Regions from separate parts of the Homo sapiens genome. Here region 1 is linked to region 2. Evidence: promoter capture Hi-C in 16 types of primary human blood cells and fetal thymus (Javierre and others, 2016). All regions are on one chromosome and are shown on one strand. Each heading gives the region's core, a stretch centred on a gene start or on the middle of the fragment in contact. The rest is flanking DNA. Distances are from core to core; before and after follow the strand shown. Region 1 holds the start of LINC01352 (long intergenic non-protein coding RNA 1352). Region 2 overlaps LOC105372932 (a long non-coding RNA gene).

Region 1 (5,946 bases), core at 1,211-3,710, 570 kb before region 2:
ACACATCACCCTGTAAGGCACATATGTTTCTGAGTGAAAAGCTAGCAGCCTGTGGTGAGCGAATGTGGTAGGGTGGGGACATGTTCTATGAGAATGGCCATCAAGGGTCCCCTTCCTGTGGGGACCTGGATTGACGATGCCTGTCAGAGTCCTGGAGGGGTGGGTTCTGCAGGTCCGTCCCACAATCCAGTCCCCAGATTAGAGATTTGTAAGTGGGTGACCCGCCTTGGAAAATTCCCCTCAGCACCTCTTATGTCTCTTGGCTCTCCATGTGGGGCACCCATACACATACAGAGCAGAACAGACCTGATTTTACATTTATCTTTTACTTTTTTTTAGAGACAGGGTCCTGCTCTGTCACCCACGCTGCTGCAGTGCAGTGGTGTGATCACAGCTCACTGTAGCCTCGATCTCCTGGGCTCAAGCAATCCTCCCGCCTCAGCCTCCCAAGTAGCACATGCCTGGCTAATTTTTAAAAATTTTTTTGTAGAGATGGAGTCTCCCTGTGTTGGCCAGGCTGGTCTCAAACTTGTGGCCTCAAACGATTCTCCCATCTCAGCCTCCCAAAGTGCTGGGATTACAGGCATGAGCCACTGTGCCCTGCCTTTTTAAAAAAATGTAAATTCTCAGTCCACAGTGTTGAGGATGTGAGAGTGAAGGGCTGCTCATCAAGAGGCTTGCTTAGTTGTTGAGTGTAGGTAAGACACTTAAAGAGAGTCACATTCTTGGGAGAAACTAAGATTCTTCCCTTGCTGTAAGAGGACACCATAAGAAGCCAAGGGTTGGCTCTGAACAGAGGGTCAAGCCAACCAGGCCCTGCTGTTATCACCTACGGAAATCCTGTGTGGCAGTAAATACAGTCCTCAGCAAAGCCTGGAGAAGAGATTACAGGGGGCACAGAGGGGCTGGGGATGCTAATGTGGAGGTTATTGGCCAGATAGTGGCCAGGAAACCAGAGACTAGGGGGGGTTCAGTTGGAGGAGCATAGGCGGAAATGGGAGAGAAAAATAAATAAATGAGATAAGCAACTTCATTTGCTTCCTCCCTTATTACTCTTTTGTTTTGTGTTTAGGACTCTGGTCTCCCCTGAGGTTGATCTCTTCTTCTGGGGACAACAGCCTGCAGGGTGATTTTGAAAAGCAGGCTCTGACTTCTACTTCCTTGTCCTGTACTCACCCCACCTGGTGTAATTCACCGTAATGCAGTGAACTTCCACATGGCTGCTGGGCATGCTTCCCAAAGCCAGCCCCTGGGCAGGGTTTCCCTTAATTTAGACCCCTGTCCCTACCTCTCCAAGTGCAAAGTGTACAAGGCTACACGCCCAGCTGCCCCCCACCCCCATACACACACTGGAGAGACCAAATGTTTGAGATCACTGTTGGGTAGCTGGGTCAAGAGAGCTTCATAACAATGTTGTTGGCATGTGGAGAGCTTTTCTTTTTCTTGGATCCCAACTGGAAATTATCAGCTTCGCCCCATGCTGACATGCGAATGTCCAGGCCTGCCTTTCTGCTGCAGGGCAATGCTCCAGGTTACAACATCGACACCAAGCAGTTTGTTGAGAAAACTTTGGACCTCATGAGCTGGGCAAGAGCGGCCTGGCAGGTGGTAGGAGAGCAGCCTGTCCATGCCTCAGCTGTGGCTCCACTGGCTCTGTGACTGTGCAGATTTTCTAACTTTTGAAGACCTCTGTTTGGATATCCATAAAATAGGTAAGATGGTGCTAATACCTACCTGTGATGTTGTGAAGATTTAATAGCATAATACTTAAAAGCACTTTGCATACATTAGCAAAGTGCCTAAATATTAGTTATTTGGCGGAGGCTATTAACCAGTGTGCTATGAGGTGCAAAGTAAGTTGTTACCAATAACTCAAAGAACTCCAGTTTGCAAATGTTTTACTTTTACTTAAGAGAATCTTTGCGGGAGAATTAAAACCAATTAATTCCCACCACTGGCCAAGAGCTCATGCTGTAATTATCCAAGACAGAATAGCTCAACAGAAAACCAAGTCATGCAATTCTGAGCACTTGTCCTTGGGATGCCACTTTGGGGCTCCCATATCTGAAATCATTTTGTTCTCAGTCCACCTGTGTGACATTTCTGTCCTGCTCAGCCACGGGTTCACAATAATCAAGGGAATGACCCAAGGGATTCACTTCTTCCAAGCAGCCGATGCCTTTGGAAGTTATGTTGACATTGCTTGTTTAAACCTAGGGCAAGAAATCCTTTCTCTGCCAGACCTGACTCTTCAGGCACACTCCTCAGTTTGGAGACGTGACTTGCCATGTAGTACTGAGAGGGAAAACAGGCCAGAAACAGCCTTGTTGAAAACTTCTTTTCTGCTTAGCTGCCCTCTGAACAGTCACCATAAAGATTGTGAGGTGCTGGAGCCAGGGATGACCTCATAAAGCCCTTTGCTAAATACTTAGTGAGCTGGTACTGTGGGCCAGGCACTGTGCTCATCATGAACAAAACCAAGGCAGACAACACTGTCATTAATGGAGCTTATCATGTAATACGGAAGCCTGGGATAAGCAACAAATTACACAAGTGACAAATGTGATGAGTGCTGTGAAGCAGAGTGCGGGGTGCCCAGGGAATCAGCAGAGCCCTGGAGGATAACAGCCTGAGCTCCAGGAAGGAAGGTTGTGGTGGTGCTTAGGGTCAGAGTGGGGACAAGCATTCCAAGCAAAGGGAAAAGCACATACACATGCTATATTAGTCAGGTTTCTCTAGAGGGACAGAACTAACAGGATAGATGTATAAATGAGGGGGAGCTTATTAAGTAGTATTGACTTGCATGAGCACAAGGTGAAGTCCCACAATAGGCTGTCTGCAAGCCGAAGAGCAGGGAAGCCAGTCCGAGTCCCCAAACCTCAAAAGTAGGGAAGCTGACAGTGCAGCCTTCTGAAGGCCCCAGAGCCCCCGGCAAACTGCTGGTGTAAATCCAAGAGTCCAAAAGCTGAAGAACTTGGAGTCTGTTGTTCGAGGGCAGGAAGTATCCAGCACGAGAGAATGATGAAGGCTGGAAGACTCAGCAAGTCTACTCCTTCCATGTTCCTCTGTGTGCTTTTATTCTGGCTGTGCTGGCAGCTGATTAGATGGTGCCCGCCCAGATTGAGGGTGGGTCTGCCTCTCCCAGTCCACTGACTCAAAAGTTAATATCTTTGGCAACACCCTCACAGACACATCCAGGAACAATAGTTTGCATCCTTCAATCTAATCAAGTTGACACCTAATATTAACCATCATACATCCCCTCCATGGGAAGGAGCATGATGCCTTATATAGTCTACTACCCTCAAACCAATCCTACTCCCTCATCCCCAACACCTTCTTCCCCTGGAACTCTAGATAGAGTTTCTTGACTAGACACATAAGCACAATTAGGCTATGCCTAATTATGAAGCCATCCCGGTTTATACATTTTCTTGTTATACTTGCCTATTTACAAGTTTTTCTTGTGAAAACTTGCCTATTCTTTTTGCTGCCTCCTCTCCACCCTAAAAGAGAAACTCTAAGGAAACACTCCCAGAGTTTATTATAGTTATTATGACTCAGATTTGAAGACTAGAATTTAATGGAGGTTTTCCTAACATTCCTTGGGGACTTGAAGGACTTTTTTTCCCACCAGCCACAGAAGTAAGATTATAAAACATTTATTTATTAAAAGAAAAGAAATCTTCTGGGCTCAAAGTTCTAGTTATTCTAAAAGCAGAGCACTTGTTCCATGTTTTCATATCGCCTCCCCACACCTACCTCTCCTCTCCCATTCTCTATTTCTTTATTTCTGTGCTGTAGTAATAAGCAAAACAGAGAAGCAATTGGTTTTAGTCTTGGATCTTGACCTTGCTGTGTGGCCTTGGCCAAGTCACTTCCCCTTTCTCAGCCTCAGTTTCTTCAAGTGTAAAATGAGAGATTGGATGGATCAGAAGATTCAGGCCTCCTTGAAAATCCCCATGGGTGAACCCCAACACACAGGCTATTCAGCCAGCAGCCCCAAGTCCTTTATGAAAAGCCAAGGTTGATTGAAACTCTCCCTTCTCAGGAGAGAAACTAGAGGCAAAGCTTCCTCATCAGCAGAGATAAACTTGGCAGGAGCCAATTCAGGTACCAGTAAAGGATATCTTCTTCTGCAGGCCAGCCTCCCTCTCTCCAGCTTGGTTCAATCCTGCATTCATTGACACTGCACTTCTATAAGCCCTTAGAACTCTGGGAATTCTCTCCTAGTTTTCCTAGGTATGCTTGCTGTTTCTACATGGGTTTCCTGTGAATGACCAGACCAATAATCAAATGCCTCCAGGACCCATAACACAAATGAGAAGAGTTCTCTCATTATGACAGGTAGGACCATGGCCAACTCAGGGCTCGTGCTTGATCGAAGGGGATCTGTGTTAGTCAGCATTCTCCAGAGAAATGGAACCCATTGGATAGATATGTAAAGAGATTTATTATGGGAGTTGGCTCATGCAATTGTGGAGTCCTAGAAGACCCACCACCTCCTGTCTGCAAGCTGGAGAAACAGCAAAGCCAGTGACGTAATTAAGTCTGAATCCAAAGGCATAAGATCAAGGAGAACTGATGGTGTAAGTCCCAAAGTCCAAAGGCTTGAGAACCAGGAGCTCTGATATCTAAGGGAAGATGTCCCAGCTCCGGAAGACAGAATTCACCCTTCCTCTGCCTTTTGTTTTATTTGAGCCCTCAATGGGCTGGATGATGCCTATTCACATTGGTGAGGGTGGATCTTCTTTACTCAGTCTACTGATTAACACCTGTTCCAGAAACGCCCTCACAGGCACACCCAGAGATATTGTTTTCCCAGCTATCTGGGCACCCCTTAGCCCAGTCAAATCAACACATAAAATTAATCATCATAGGCTCTAAGTTCTACTTAGCTCCAACCAGTTGGAGTCATTTTGGAATAAGTGTAAAGTGTTTTCAGATATTCTGATCTTACAAGTGAAGCTGGAAATTAGCATTTTTAAGTAAAGATGACTCAATTAAGAAAAAACAAAAACAAAAACCATGGCACGAGCAGAAGACGGTGCATCAGATTCAGGCCTGTGGTTGCTGGTTGGTTACCTGTGGGTGTAAGCAAAGTACTGGGTCCTTTCCCATTCTAGACTATATTTACAAAATCAGTAATGCTTAGCTATGCATTCTTTCATTTAACAATTATTTGTCAACTACCATGAGCTGGTATTATGTAGAATGCTGGTAAAATAGATAACTAAGACCCAACACATGTGTAAATGAGAATGAGTGTGATATAATCAATGTCTCCTGGGCTAGGTGTCTCTTTTTTGCTTCCACAGCACCTGTGTATACTTCCATTATGGCATGTAACATGCTGGCAAGAAATTGATTCATTGGGTTGTGTCTTCTCAGCTGCCTGAAGAATGAAATCATATACTCTAGTTTCATATGCCCAGCATTGTACACAACTTGACACATCACAGCAGCTCTAGGAAAGCACATAGGCTGACAACTGAGTGAACAACCCACTGACTGTGTGTCGTTCAGGGTTGGGAAAGCAAGGGCAGGTCTCTGTGCCCCATCTCTAGCTTTTCCTCAACTTAGGCTTTATAAACCCTTGCATCAAAAAATAAAAGCTAAGGCTAATTGTTTCAAATTAGGCTATCTTATTTCTACCCAGTAACTTCCCCACCACCAAGAAAGGAGTAATTTAAAGGAGCAAACTGTAGAAATAAATAGGAATAAAAGCATTACCTCTGAAAGCCAAGGCCATTAATTCATTAAAAAAAAAAAAAAAATCAAAGCCCGGGCGTGGTGGCTCATGCCTGTAATCCCAGCACTTTGGGAGGCTGAGGTGGGTGTATCACCTGAGGTTAAGAGTTTAGACCAGCCTGGCCAATGTGGTGAAACCCCATCTCTACTAAAAATACAAAAAAGTTAGCCAGGCGTGGTGGCAGGTGCCTGTAA
Region 2 (5,865 bases), core at 1,165-3,664:
TCACCTTGGGAGAGAATGGGACTGAGAGTTAGGGGGGCAGGAGAAGGTCAGAGAAAAACTTTTGCTTCTGAGGCTTTCATTTTGGGGTATTATTTTTGGAGCCCCAGCAACTTCCTTCATATATTTATGCAGATTGCTGTTGTCTAAAATGGTAAACTTTTAGAAGATGGGCACTGTCTTTATTGGTGTATTAGCATCTCTGCACTTTGAGTTAGAACAGTGATACTAAGCCCTAATTTTTCATTCTCCAGGTGATATTTTTTAGTGACATCCACTTTTTCTTCTTTGATAGTTCTAACTCCTTGACTAATTCTCAAAATAAATTCTTTTCAATTAACCATAATTTACAAATACTATGTGCAGAGAGTATTTCTAAGGTTATTTGGAAGCAGCAATATAAACATTTGTCATAACTCCTCCCAAATTGGAAATGGATCTATGAGAGGATAACAGCTAATAGTGTTACTATTCATATGTATAAAAGTGACTTAATTGATGAGGGTGAGGAGCAGGGCAGGTTAAATCTTTCCTTTTATGAATACTGTTGTTTCCTGATATGCCTAGTTTCAAGAAGTTGGGCAAGCTAGAAGTTGGATTATGACTTCATCACCTATGACTCACATGGAATGCACAATTTTGATCCAAAACTTTTGTTCTAATAAGATTTCAACTTCCAAACATTGGTAGCAATGAGAGCCAAGAGCAGGAATGTGACAGTGTGCCAGGTTGATCACAGTGTTTAGGGTTTTGTTTTTTTTTTTTTTGTGAAATGAAGTCTCACTCCATTGCCCAGGCTGGAGTGGAGTTGTGCAATCTCGTCTCACTGCAACCTCCACCTCCTGGGTTCAAGAGATTCTCCTGCCTCAGCCTCTTGAGTAGCTGGGACTACAGGCACGTGCCACCACACCCAGCTAATTTTTTGTATTTTTAGTAGAGAAGGAGTTTCACTGTGTTAGCCAGGATGGTCTCAATCTCCTGACCTCGTGATCCATCCGCCTCGGCCTTCCAAAATGTTGGGATTACAGGCATGAGCCACTGCACCTGGCCTATGCTTTCTTTTTAACAAAAGTTGTTTTCAACAAAATTTGACTTTGCTCAAGAATGGCACTAGTTTTTAGAAAAATTTTGGAGTGGTGAAGTCAAGGAATTTTCAACTGAAGTAGATCATGTGCTCATTGACAGCAGCAAAATGGCATCCGTGGGGGATCCTAACATAGAGGCACCATTTCTCCACTCAGGGAAAGGATTAGGCATAGAAATGCAAACATCAAGCTTTGCTTGGTACACTATTATTTCCTTGCTGAACTCCAGATGATAAGGTAACCAACTGGCCCTGAAATCGTAAGTGGGTGAATTCAACTATCAGATGCTTTACTGTGATAAAAGTGTCAATAATATCTCAGACTTAGGCAGTGCTTTGTAGTCTACAGAGAACTTTCATCTACTTTCTCTCACTGGATCTTATCACTTGATTCCTTATGATAGGCAAAGTTAATATGCATATTATCAAGTCCAGGTCTAGCTCAGTCCTTGCTGCATACATTATTCGTGCTTAACTACTTATAGAATTGAAGTTGTTGAATCTACGGTTTCAGATAAGAAAAGAATGTTTAATGATTTCTGCAAACTCAGCCATACCAGGTGAAACTGCTAAGACTTAAAGCCATCTTTTATGCCTTGTGTCCTCTGATGTTGCCATTGGCGCTTGTAAGAACACTTCTTTTCCCCAAGTCACTGTTGATACCAAAGAAAGCTATTATCCCCACATCTATCCCTGGTGCCACTGAGCGGTAAGGATTTGAACAAGCTTGAGAATAGTGTTTAAAGTAATTAGTTCCATATTAAAAAGAAAAAGAAGAGAGAGTAGGAAGGAGCAGTAAGCAGAAAGATGATTAAGGCTTTGGGTGTGGATCAGAATGGTATTTAAAATAAATACAACAAAAGTTATCCAATAATCAGTAAACAGTAATATAATTAGAATTTTTTTTTCCTATTTACTTCCTTTAACATGCAATGGGGGGAAATGGTAACAAAAAAAAAAGTCAAGGACTCAATCAAACAGATGGTTCTCAAGTTATTATTTTCTCCTTACTGTTGTTTACAAGAAAAAACTCCTTTAACAAACCGTGACTCACAGATTCCAGTGGGACCAGAAATTCTCTATGTGAAGGAGAGGAAAATAGTGGGAAGAGAACCCGCATCATAAACTTTTATTATGCACATTATTATGCCTCATTAATTAACCCAACCACTGTCCTAGTGACGTCTTGGGCTCACTTCACAGGAAAAAATTAGTCTGGATTGCCAAGTTAAATAGACAATTACAGGAAGATCAAATTATGCCTACATTGCATTCTGTCAGGGCATCAAGCCAAATTCATGTCAAACTCATAAGACTGGAATATCCTTAAAAAAACAGCCCTGAAGAACCAATGTCACAAGCCATTTGACGTCCACACGGAGGATGTATTGATCTTGCCTGAGCTTCCTTTCTCAGAATCGCATAACAGACCAAGAAAGAGGGCTTTCTGAGCATCTTACTCTCTTCCACACAGCAGCTGGCTAGATCCTTTGTTATGTACAATAAAGCACAATGAAACAGGGAAAAACATCCCACCTCATGAGCTCCATCCCTCATCCTGGCTGGCAGCTGTCACAGATCTGAAGAAACAGCTTAGACATTTAAAGAGAACAATGAAAATCCCCAGTGTAGGTTTTCCACAGTGGAACCCTTGGTTCTGTCCATGATCTTGAGGAACACTTTTCCAAAAAATCTGAGCTGAGGCCAAAATGAATAAAGCTCACCCCAGATTTTCAGAACCCACAGTGGAATGCCTGATGTCCCCAGCACCAGAGACAACACGATACTGGAGAGAATAAGAACAATTGCCACAATGCTTTCAGGTAAGGTGATGTTTGCTGGTGGTTCAGGACTCAAAAAGAGAATTGAATGTGTCTTGTATCTACTGAGGAATGAAAGTTTAAGAATTTAAGTGTGGAAGACTGGATGCAACTTGGAAAGAAAGCTTCTTCCTGATTCCCATTCTGGGACATTCCTCCTTTATAATCAGAAGTGTCTACCTGAAGCCTTTTTCCATGTTACTTCCATTTTATGAAGAACCCCCGCTCCCTCAAGTGGTAGAATCTATTTGCTCCCCTCTTGTGGTTTTCTATGAAACAAGAATTATGTTTTAAGAATCCTGAGCTCAAACCTAAAGAAGACTAGCAGGTTACATGTTATATCTCTGAAAAATCAGCTGACATATAAGTTCCGCTCCCTTGGAATCACCATATTGTGAGGAAGCACAAGCTAGCTGAAGGAAGCACCACATGGAGGAGAACCAAAGAAGTCAGAGAATAATGAGAACTTACCCATATGGCTTCTGTTAAATTGTCCCAGCCAGCTGTTACTGGTCAGCCATCCTAGCTCATGCCTGGAAATTGCGGAGTAGAGATGAGCTATCCCCACTGTGCTCTGTCTGAATTGTAAGCAAATAAATGGCTGTTGTTTTCTGGTGGCAAGTGTGGAGAGATATTTTTCCATGCAGATGACTAGAATACCCTCCAAATCTGGCATGGATGCTTCTCCTGTGATCTTTGTGCCATTGCGGACCTCCAGCATGTTACTATCCTGCTGCAATATCCAAAACAAAGATGTCTTTCTCTGGCCTTCTCCCTTGCCCCAATTTTGTCCTCTTTAAGGATGTGGAAACTTATTATCTTAATAGTCGTCACAATTTCTCTTAGGGAGGGAATTCTCTTCATTTGTAAATATAAGTTTCTGAGCCCCTGGGGATTGAATGCTCTGTGGGCAATAGTCAAGGCTTCCAAGAAAAATGGCTAAACTTGTCTGCCTAGGAAAGGAAGTGTTTTGGAATGTAATGAGAGAGAGAGGGACAGAGAGACAGAGAGACAGAGAGAGACAGAGAGAAAGGGAAGAGAGAGAGCTCTGAAGAGGCCCCGGGAGGCAGAAGATCTCCCCTGTGTAGGGAGGCAACCAATGGACAGTTCCCTATGACCCATGAGAGAAACTAAGGCACATATTGAAATGAAAATGACTACTGTAAAATTTGAATTTGCCTGGTGTTTTGACATGCTATATCCCTTCCTCCTTGTCCATCTCTTCCCCATAAAACCACCATATCTTACCACACTCATACCAAAAGCATGGGCAACAAAAGAAAACATACATAGGAGAGGTGGAGTAAGATGGTAGAATACAAAGCTCCACTGATTGCTTTCCCTCCCCACATCCCCACCAAAGACACCAAGTTAACAACTATCTACACAGAAAAAAACACCTTCATACAAACCAAAAATCAGGTGAACACTCACAGTACCTGGTTATGACTTCGTATCACTGAAAGAGGTGCTGAATAAATAGAAAATACACTCCTGAATGGCTGATGCCACCCCTACCCCACCCTGGCAGCAGAGGTGTGATGCAGAGAGCTTCTCTAGGTGCTGGGAGAGGGAGAACACAGCAGTTGTGAGGCACTAAACTCATACTGTCCTGTTAGAGGAGAAAGAAAAACAGCTGATCAAATTCACCAAACTCAGCGGATGCCCACCCACGAAGGGAGCATTTAAAGGAGCCCTAGGATGAAGGGAATCACTGATCCCAGCAGTTCAAACTTGAGTACCTTCAAACCTCACCATCAAGGGCTACAGCACTCTGTGTCTTCAAGTAAACTTGAAAGGCAGTCTAGGCCACAAGGGCCACCAATCTTAGATGACTCATAGTGCTGAACCAGGCCTACAGACAGTGGACTGGAGTGGGGGCACACAACATACTGAGAGGCCAGCTGGGGCAGCCAAGGGAGTGCTGGTATCATCCATCCCATAACCCCAGGTGGCACAGCTGGAGGCTCCAAAAAAGACCCACTCCTTCTGCTTGAGGAGAGGAGAGGGAAGAGTGGGGAGGACTTTGTTTTGCATCTAGAATACCAATTCAGCCACAGTAGCATAGAGCACTGGTCAGAGTTGTGAGGCTTCTTTTCCAGGCCCTAGATCCCAGGTGACATTTCTAGAGACACCCTGGGCCAGAAGGAAACCCGCTGCCTTGAAGGAAAAGACCCAGTCCTGGCAGCATTTATCATCTGCTGACTGAAGAGCCCTTGGGCCCTGAATAAGAAGAAGTGATACTCAGGTACTACGTCGAGAGCCTTGAGTGAGCCTCTGAGACTTGCTGGCTTTAGGTGAGACTCAGCACATTCCAAGCTGTGGTGGCTATGGGGAAAAATTCCTTTGGCTTGAGAAAAGCAGGCGGGAAAGTAAAGGGGACTTTGTCTTGCACCTTAGGTACCAGCATAGCCACAGAGCAGTAGAGCACCAAATGGGCTCTTGGAGTCCCTGATTCCAGGACTTAACTCTTAGATGGCATTTCTGGTCCTGCCCTGGGCCAGAGGGAAGTCCACTGACCTGAAGGGTGAGTCACAGGCCAGGTAGCATTCATGACAAGCTGATTTAAGAAACCTTGGGTCTTAAGGGAACATCAACAGTAGTCTGGCAGAACTCCTCGTGGCCTGGGCTGGCAGTGGCTGTGGGGTGAGGCTCTTCTGCCTTTGAAGGGAAGGGAAGAGTGGGAAGGACTGTGTCTTGTGGTTTGGTGCCAGCTCAGTTGCAATAAAATAAAACACCAGGTAAACTTCTAAGGTTTTTGACTCTAGTTTCTGACGCCCAGACAGTACTTCTGGACCCACTCGGAGGCGAGTGGGGGGACCTTGCTGCCCTGAAGGGAAGGACACAGGCCTGGCTGACTTTGACACCTGCCAATTGTAGAGCCCCAGGGCCTTGAGTGAATTGTAGAGCCCCAGGGCCTTGAGTGAACAGCAGGCAGGAAGTGGTTACAGCAGACCTTGGCTG

What was found. The method cuts DNA at HindIII sites, captures the fragments that hold promoters and counts their contacts. A CHiCAGO score of 5 or more calls a contact.
Region 1: the fragment with the promoter of LINC01352 here is called in contact with a fragment that was not itself captured in region 2 in 6 of 17 cell types (neutrophils, M0 macrophages, monocytes and 3 more); the score reaches 10.6 in neutrophils.

The regions. Positions count from the first base shown.
Region 1 is chr1:220,826,795-220,832,740 of GRCh38, forward strand. It overlaps LINC01352 (long intergenic non-protein coding RNA 1352), which reads left to right and starts at 2,461. Exons shown (of 4, transcript NR_110797.1): 1 at 2,461-2,648; 2 at 3,899-4,113; 3 at 4,348-4,589; 4 at 5,319-5,635. The HindIII fragment of the contact is 6,544 bases long and covers 1-4,069 here.
Region 2 is chr1:221,391,970-221,397,834 of GRCh38, forward strand. The region is part of intron 3 of LOC105372932 (a long non-coding RNA gene); the gene reads left to right. Among named protein-coding and RNA genes, the nearest start is that of LINC02817, 59 kb to the left of the region's middle. The HindIII fragment of the contact is 1,219 bases long and covers 1,806-3,024 here.